3 separate regions of the Homo sapiens genome follow, and all the other regions are linked to region 3. The links are contacts of gene promoters, found by promoter capture Hi-C in blood cells and fetal thymus (Javierre and others, 2016). All regions are on one chromosome and are shown on one strand. Each heading gives the region's core, a stretch centred on a gene start or on the middle of the fragment in contact. The rest is flanking DNA. Distances are from core to core; before and after follow the strand shown.

What was found. The method cuts DNA at HindIII sites, captures the fragments that hold promoters and counts their contacts. A CHiCAGO score of 5 or more calls a contact.
Region 1: a fragment that was not itself captured here is called in contact with the fragment with the promoter of CD5 in region 3 in 1 of 17 cell types (fetal thymus); the score reaches 5.5 in fetal thymus.
Region 2: a fragment that was not itself captured here is called in contact with the fragment with the promoter of CD5 in region 3 in 2 of 17 cell types (fetal thymus and total CD4 T cells); the score reaches 6.7 in fetal thymus.

The regions. Positions count from the first base shown.
Region 1 is chr11:60,769,580-60,772,279 of GRCh38, reverse strand. It overlaps MS4A15 (membrane spanning 4-domains A15), which reads right to left. Exons shown (of 7, transcript NM_001098835.2): 4 at 933-989. Among named protein-coding and RNA genes, the nearest start is that of MS4A15, 14 kb to the right of the region's middle. The HindIII fragment of the contact is 3,389 bases long and covers 1-2,700 here.
Region 2 is chr11:60,825,137-60,827,836 of GRCh38, reverse strand. The region is part of intron 2 of LOC105369322 (a long non-coding RNA gene); the gene reads left to right. Among named protein-coding and RNA genes, the nearest start is that of CCDC86, 16 kb to the left of the region's middle. The HindIII fragment of the contact is 2,594 bases long and covers 78-2,671 here.
Region 3 is chr11:61,101,137-61,103,836 of GRCh38, reverse strand. It overlaps CD5 (CD5 molecule), which reads right to left and starts at 1,348. Exons shown (of 11, transcript NM_014207.4): 1 at 1,222-1,348. The coding sequence starts at 1,276. The HindIII fragment of the contact is 6,487 bases long and covers 1-2,700 here.

The DNA of each region.
Region 1 (2,700 bases), core at 189-2,688, 330 kb after region 3:
AACTTGGCATTTAGGCTCTGAGTCACCTCCCCGGCCTCTCCCTCTCGGCCCACCCCTTGCCTGTGATGGTCCAGCACTCTGGTCCCCTGTCCAGCCATGGCGTTTCCCGACCGGGCTCTTCCGTGGTTGTTGCCCTCTGAACTGTGAAGACTCGGTTCCGTGATACCTGCTCAGGGACTCCAGACCGTCCCAGCTGAGCTTAGAATGACTCATATTATCCTGCCTGCTTCCTTTCAGCACTTCTCATGCTTGGCAACCATCTTTGTTAGTTTGCTTTACGGGTGTCTACAAGGCACCAGAAGATAAATGCCATGACCTTCACTGCTATGTTCATGACCTTCGCTGCCGTGTTCATGATCTTCATTGCCGTGTTCTCTGAGCCTGACATAAAGCTCATACCCTCCTGTTCAAAGCCTCCATCGCCTCCCAGTGCCTGCAGAAGGCACCAAGCCCTCCACAATCCAGCCCCATCATGGGATTAAATCTCTCTGTCTGATTTCTTTCCACTTTCCTTCTCCTACCTTTGCCTTCGTTGGATGGAGCCAGGCGTGGTTTCAGTGGCGACCCTGCCCACACTCCTCCGTGCATTCTCCAGCTTTCCCTGTGGTATTTCTAAGTCCTCTCTGCTCACCAAGGCCCAGCAGGACTCTTACAGGAGATCTTCTAGCATCTTTCCTTTCTCGGAATGACCATGAGCATGGACCTCACTTTCCACCCTGGCTTGTGTATTGAAAGAGTATCCCTGTCTTCTTCTCCTGGACATGCACAGTCTGCGTCTGGTCTGCCTGGGTGGTGCCCCTCCCCTGGCACTTTGCAGGTCCCCTGAAGTGCTGGGGAATGAGCTGAAGGAGTGAGTGGATGGGAGGGGCAGGGTAGAGTGAGATTTAGCTGTGGCTTCATCCCCGCCCCTGGGTCCCCCTGTTCACACTCACCAGGCAACTGGTGTGGTTCTTCTCGGCTGCCACTGAGAGGGATCCGGAGATGATGAACTGTATGGGGAGAGGGGACCAGGTGAGGCCTCAGCCAGGACCCTGGGCAGGGCAGACCCTGCTTGGGATCTGTCAAGAGGTGCCAGGGAGAGACAACAGCCTCCTGATGCCACTTTCTCTGCCAGGCAGGCACCTTGGGGTCTCTCGGCAGGGGTGTCCCCTGTCCAGAGAACTAGGGCTGTGGCTTACAAGGTGAGTGTTTTCATTGACGTCATATCATCAGGGCCTCATGGGGAAGGCATTGTTCCTTCAAACATTCACTCATCAAACATTTACTGAGTGAGGCTGAACTGAGTGAGCTCATGCCTGTAATCCCAGAAGTTTGGGAGGCCGAGGTGGGAGGATCTCTTGAAGTCAAGAGTTCAAGACCAGCCTGGCCAACATGGTGAAACTCCAGTCTCTACTAAAAATACAAAAATGAGCTGGGCAGAGTGGCGTGCACCTGTAATCCCACCTACTCGGGAGGCTAAGGAGCAAGGATCACTTGAACCTGGGAGGCGGAGGTTGCAGTGAGCCAAGATAGTGCCACTGCACTCCAGCCTGGGGGACAGAGTGAGACTCTGTCTCAAAACAAAAAACAGAAAAACCAAATATTTTCTGAGTGGCAGTTATGTGCCAGGAACATAACAGAGTTGAATAAGGCAGACCAGATCTCTGCCCTCAAGGAGCTTTTTTTTTTTTATTTTATTTTCTAAGATGGAGTCTTGCTCTGTCACACAGGCTGGAGTGCAGTGGCATGATCTCGGCTCACTGCAACCTCCGCCTCCCGGGTTCAAGTGATTCTCCTGCCCCAGCCTCCCAAGTAGCTGGGACTACAGACGCCCGCCACCACACCCAGCTAATTTTGGTATTTTTAGGAGAGACGGGGTTTCACCATATTGGTCAGGCTGGTCTTGAACTCCTGACCTCGTGATCCACCTGACTTGGCCTCCCAAAGTGCTGGGATTACAGTCATCAGCCACCGTGCCCGGCCGGAACTTATATTCTAATTGGGGAAGACTGACACTTAGCAAACAGTGAAGAAAAGTACAGACAGTGGTGCTAAGAGCTGTGATGAAGTCATAGCGGTCACTGGGGCTACTCGAGGTTGGGTGGGTGTCAGGGTTGTCTCTGTGAGCTGGGATGACAACAGCCGGGCACGAGGCTATCCATAAGGATAGCCCAGGGACCTGCATCATGGCACCTATGTACTTGGCAGTCGCCTGACACACTGAGGTGGGGCTGGCCCTGCGTCTGCCGAGCTGAGAGGGTGGAGCTGAGCAGTGCTGCGCCACTCTGGGCCTGCAGCTTAGCAGGTCTGCAATTTGCAGGGGGCACTCAGCTGCCATGCTGGGGAGACCGCAGGGTCAGCGGTGGGTGGAGGAGGCCCTGGGGTGACACGGAGACAGAGGACCAGGAATGAGTCACTACAGGTCTCAAGCAGGTGTAGCTCAGCATGGTGGCCATGGGGGTGGGAAGAAGCGGACACACTCAGGCTATGCTCTGGAGGGTGATCCGGCGCGACCTGCTGCTGGGGTGGATGCGCAGCAGGGAAAGAAGATTCTAGGACAATTCTTGGGATATGTTTAGCTTTGGCAGTTGGGTGGCTGGAGGTGCCATTTGCTGAGATGAGGAGGTGATAGGAGGGATAGGGCTGGGGACAAGCCTATGGCAGGAATCAAGAGTTTCATTTTGATATACTGAGTTGCCTTTTCAGCATCAAGCGGAGTTG
Region 2 (2,700 bases), core at 125-2,624, 280 kb after region 3:
GGCAGTTTTACAGGCCAGCCAGTCCCGGAATCAGTCTGCAGATTCTGACCAAGGAGATGGATAAAAGAAGGGAAGCTTTCTAGAAGGGGAGTGACCTGTCATCTAGTGAGCACCTGTTACGTGCTTATTTTAATCTTAGTTGCCTTATTAGATAGCTACTCTGATTAGCCCCATTTCACAGAGGATGAAACAGAGGTTCAGAAAAATTGAGGTACTTGTCCAAAGCCACACAGCTGGTATGTGAAAGCTGGGATTCAGACCCATCCAATTCCAAGACCCATGTGGTCAACCATTCAGACTGACACCCATCAGCAAAAAAGTACAGAAAGGTCAAGTAAGAAAATACATGGAAAAGCATGTATTTGGCAGTAAGCTACTGGCGGCTGCCCTGAGAGGGCTTGAGGTCTGTAGAGACGGGAGAGGAGGAGATGGAGTCCGTAGGAGATTGTTGCTGTGAAAGGGAAGAGAGGGGAGACCACAGTCAGAGAGGGACACGGGGTCTCCGGGACTTGAGTTTCTGGACCAGAGGAGAGGGAGAGGCATGGATGGAGGAGAGAGCAGCTAGGGAAGGTGAACACAGTGGACTAGGGTCGTGGGGGCCTAGGAGGAATGATTTGTCCTCTACTGATAAGGAAAGCACAGAGAGGGGCTGGGTGAAGATCAGTTTCACGTGAGGTCACGGGCAGGAAGTTGAGTCTTGGGGCCGTTCAGGGACCCCAGGCTACAGGGGAAGGTCGGGGATTCTGGGGCAGCTGGGTCACTGAAGTGGTCAAAGTGTGGGCAGCAGTGGGCAGTGTGTCCCTCGCCCCTGCATGGTGTGTCAGACCCACCTGAAGAGAGTGTTTCTCCTTTCCTCTCTTTCCCTAGGATGAGAGCAGAGGAAACTCCTCCCCCAGTATTCCCAGCCCCATTTTTGCCACGTCCAGGTCCCTGGTAGCAATCTCATGACATAATCACATGTCTTTGAAAAGATGTGACCTCAATGGCCACAGCCAGAAGGCAGGACTCACTGATAAATCTTAGGTATTATTATGCTGGCAGTCCTCCTAATGCACCCTTGACCTCTATGCTCTTACAGGGGAACGTCCTTGGTAGGAGGCAAGCAGCTGGAATATCTTCCTCCAAGCAAATGATTATTATTTTTTTTAAGAAACAGGGGCTCACTCTGTTACCCAGGCTGGAGTGCAGTGGCATGATTATAACTCACCGCAGCCTTGAACTCATGGGCTCAAGCAATCCTCCCACTTCAGCCTTCCAAGTAGCTGGGACTACAGGCCTGCACCAACATACCTGGCTAATTTTTTTCAAAAAAATATTTTTGGTTGAGAGTGGGCCTCACCATGTTTCTCAGGCTAGTCTCAAACTCCTGGGTTCAAGCGATCCTCCCGCCTTGGCCTCCTAAAGAGCCACCACATCAGCATTAACACAGGAAAAACTAGTCCAGAGGGAAGTACCTGGGGCTGTCAAATCCTGGTGGAGTTCTGCCTCAGGGAATCTGGAGGTAATTGCTAAACACTTAAACCCTACTCCCAAAAGCTGGGTGTCATGGTACCTGCCTGGAGTCCCAGCCACTCAGGAGGCTTAGGCAGGAGAATCGCTGGAGCCCAGGAGTTTGAGGACAGCATGAGCAAGTTAGCGAGGCTCTGTCTGTATTTAAAGAAAAAAAAAATCCCACTCCCCATTTTAACTTTGACAATAGAGGATAAGAAAATATCTCTTGGTGGTGGTTTCTAGGATTAAATGGTGCCCAAAGAGTGGATGCTTATTCTCTGGGCCTGAGACACTGATCTGGGTATAGTTGTTGCTGGCAGCCAGCTCAACCATGAAGGCACACACCCCGAGGCTGGCACACAGTGAGCTGACCAGGTTTGGCCCTGTGCTGACCTTCACCTGCTAAGGAGACCGGAGCCCGAGTTACTACCCAGCGGGAAGGGGAGAGTGCTGGCTCACATGCCCTCTGTGTTGCGGGCTTCCTTTGCACGCTTTTGATCCTGGAGGAACCACTGACTTGCCCTAGGAGCCAGGAACCAGTGACCAAGGTGACAGCATCTCTGCTCCACCTGCTGGAGCCCATGGGCCACAGAGGCTATGTCAGCCTTAATAGCCAGGAGATGGATTTGTTGCAGGAGCACAGACAGCAACATGTGTGGCCACTTCTTCCTGCAAAGTCCATGGCAGACAACATCCATCAATCCTCAGAACCCACCAGGGCCGCATCGATAGAAAAGCTATTTGCCATCTTTTGTGGGTTGAATTGTATCCCCCCAAAAGATATGTTGAAGTCTTAACCCTGGTACCTGTGAATGGGATCTATTTGGAAATAGGGTCTTTGCAGATGTAATCGAGTTAAGATGAGGTCATAATGGATTATGACTGGTGTCCTTAGAAGAAGGGAAGGGACACAGGGAGAACAGCCCCTGATGACAGAGGCAGAGACTGGCAGGATGTGTCTACGAGCCAAGGAACACCAAGAGTTGCCAGCAACCACTGGAAGCTGGGACGAGGCCAGAAAGCATTATCCCCAAGAGCCTTCAGAGAGAACTCGATCCTGCCAGCACCTTGACTTTGGGCTTCCAGCCTCCAGAATCATAGACTACAGGTTTCTGTTTTCTTTCTTTTTTTTTTTTTTCTTGAGATGGAGTCTCACTCTTGCCCAGGCACGATCTAAGCTTACTGCAACCTCTGCCTCCTGGGCTTAAG
Region 3 (2,700 bases), core at 99-2,598:
GTACTCACACACATGCCCAGAGACTCACACACAGACTCACACATTCCCCCCCAGACAGTACTCACACACATGCCCAGAGACTCACACACAGACTCACACACAGACTCACACATTCCCCTACACACAGTACTCACACACATGCCCAGAGACTCACACACAGACTCACACACAGAGTCACACATTACCCCCCAACACAGTTCTCACACACGTACACACAGACTCACACAGACACACATAGACTCACACATTCCCCCACACACAGTTCTCACACACATGCACACAGACACACACACATGCATTCCCCCACACTCACACCTGCACACCCGGTTTCCCTAGAAGGCTGCTGAGGCTCCCTGCTCAGGCAGGCAAGGCCTCCGGACCCTCTCCCTGCCAGCCTGGAAGCTGCTCGCATCCTCCTGTTTCCAGCCCAGAGTCACGCACCTCTGTCACCCTGCCAGACCTTCTAAATCCTCAGGAAGTGGGTCAGGCCTCATCCAGTTCACACCCCCAACCCCCACATTTCATAAATGGGGAGATCAAGGCCTGGAGAGGCTTGGGGACCTATCCGAGGTCACACAGGGTTGGGCTTACAACCCAGGGCTGGAGTGAGAGCAGGCCCAGCGTGTACTCATCCCAGCCGGCCTGGCTGGGCCCCTCTGGGACTGACCCAGGACTGGGCATGAGAGGGCCTAGGACTTCCGCTATGAGTCCTTGACATTTGCTCAGACATCGTCCTCAGAGGCGGCTCCACCCTGCCTCGGCCCACTGTCTGTCCAGAGCATCATCAGAGCTGCCTCGGAGACGGCGAGTTTCCATGTCTCTGGAGGCGACCAAGTAAAGGCTGGGCTGTCAGTGGGGGACCTCGCAGAGGGAGGCCTGAATGCTCTGCTAAAATCCAACTCAGCCTAGGAATCAAGTTGTCTGGGCCCCATCAAATGCGGGTCCCCCCTGCAGTCTCTCTTGCACTGGAAGGGTAAAGCAGGGTTCTCAACAGCGCATGAGAGAGGCAAGGTTGTGCTCCTGGCGGGTGGGACATGCAGGACAGAGGGCCAAGCTGCGGCTTAGTGGGGGCAGGCAGGGATCCCAGTGGCCCCAAATCTCCACAACGCTCCAGAGGGCTGACATGTGGATCCCAGAGTCAGCCTTGGGTAAAACTGGGAACTCCTTCCTTGCACTGGAGCGAGCCCGGGTGTTCGCAGGACACCTGGGAGGGGTACTCACCCAGCATCCCCAGCAGGTACAAGGTGGCCAGCGGTTGCAGAGACCCCATGGGCATGGTTTCTGGCCTTCTCTTGCCTCAGCCTGGGCAGCTGGGCACCGCAGGTGAGGGTGTCTGGCCGGGTATCTCGCTCTCAGAGAGGGAGAGGGCGGGGTGGCGTGCTCAGGGAGGGGTGGGACGGGGAGCAGGCAGTGTGGGGCCTGCGTCACCCATGTTTGAAGTTGAACTGTCAACTTCCTCCTGGCAAAACCACCTGCCCCTGTTTGAATGGCAGCCCTGGCCTCTGCCAGCTTCCTGCCCAAGGTACCCAGGGCTGGGGCAGTGCTCTCGGCCACCCCCACACAGGACAAGGCCATGCATCCTGGAGGGACAGGGCTGCAGGGGGTGGGGACCCTGAGCGGGGGTTACGGAGGCTGAAGGCCTGGCTGCAGCTGAGGGCTGGGCTGAGGACAGGCGTCCCTGAGGCAGGGGTCTGGGTGGGGAGAGGCGGGAAATGGGCAGCATGATGCCAGTTCTTGTTGCAGACTCCAGTGAAAGCCAAAACCAAACCCTCCATTCCCCCTTTGTGAGGGATGAGGTTGGAAGTTTGAGCTGACTTTCCACAGGTGGTGTTTTGCTAGCAAGTACAAGAGATGGCTGCGCCATGAATGCTGGGCTTGTGCCAGTGTGTGTGTGTGTGTGTGTGTGTGTGTGTGTGTGTGTGTGTAGAGAGAGAGAGATCTCCATGTTGACTTGTGTGATCTCTGTGTTGTGTGTGTCATCTCTGTGTTGTGTGATCTCCATGTTGAGGTGTATGTGTGAGCTCCATGTTGAGTGTGTGTGATCTCCATGTTGATGTGTGTGTGAACTCCATGTTGATGTGTGTGTAATCTCCATGTTGACGTGTGTGATTTCTGTGTTGTGTGTGATCTCCATGTTGATGTGTGTGATTGTGATCGCCATGTTGATGTGTGTGTGATCTCCATGTTGATGTGTGTGTGTGATCTCCATGTTGATATGTGTGTGTGATTTCCATGTTGTGTGTTTGTGATTTCCATGTTGATGTGTGTGTATGATCTCCATGTTGACTTGTGTGATCTCTGTGTTGTGTGTGTGATCTCCATGTTGGGGTTGATGTGTGTGTAATCCCCATTTGATATATGTGTGTGTGATCTCCATGTTTGTGTGTGTGAATGTGATCTCCATGTTGATGTGTGTGAATGTGATCTCCATGTTGACGTGTGTGTGTGATCTCCATGTTGATGTGTGTGTGTGATCTCCATGTTGATGTGTGTGAATGTGATCTCCATGTTGATGTGTGTGTAATCTCCATGTTGATGTGTGTGTGTGATCTCCATGTTGATGTGTGTTTGTGATCTCCATGTTGATGTGTGTGAATGTGATCTCCATGTTGATGTGTGTGTGATCTCCATGTTGATGTGTGTGTGTGATCTCCATGTGGATGAGTGTGTGATCTCCATGTTGATGTGTGTGTAATCTCC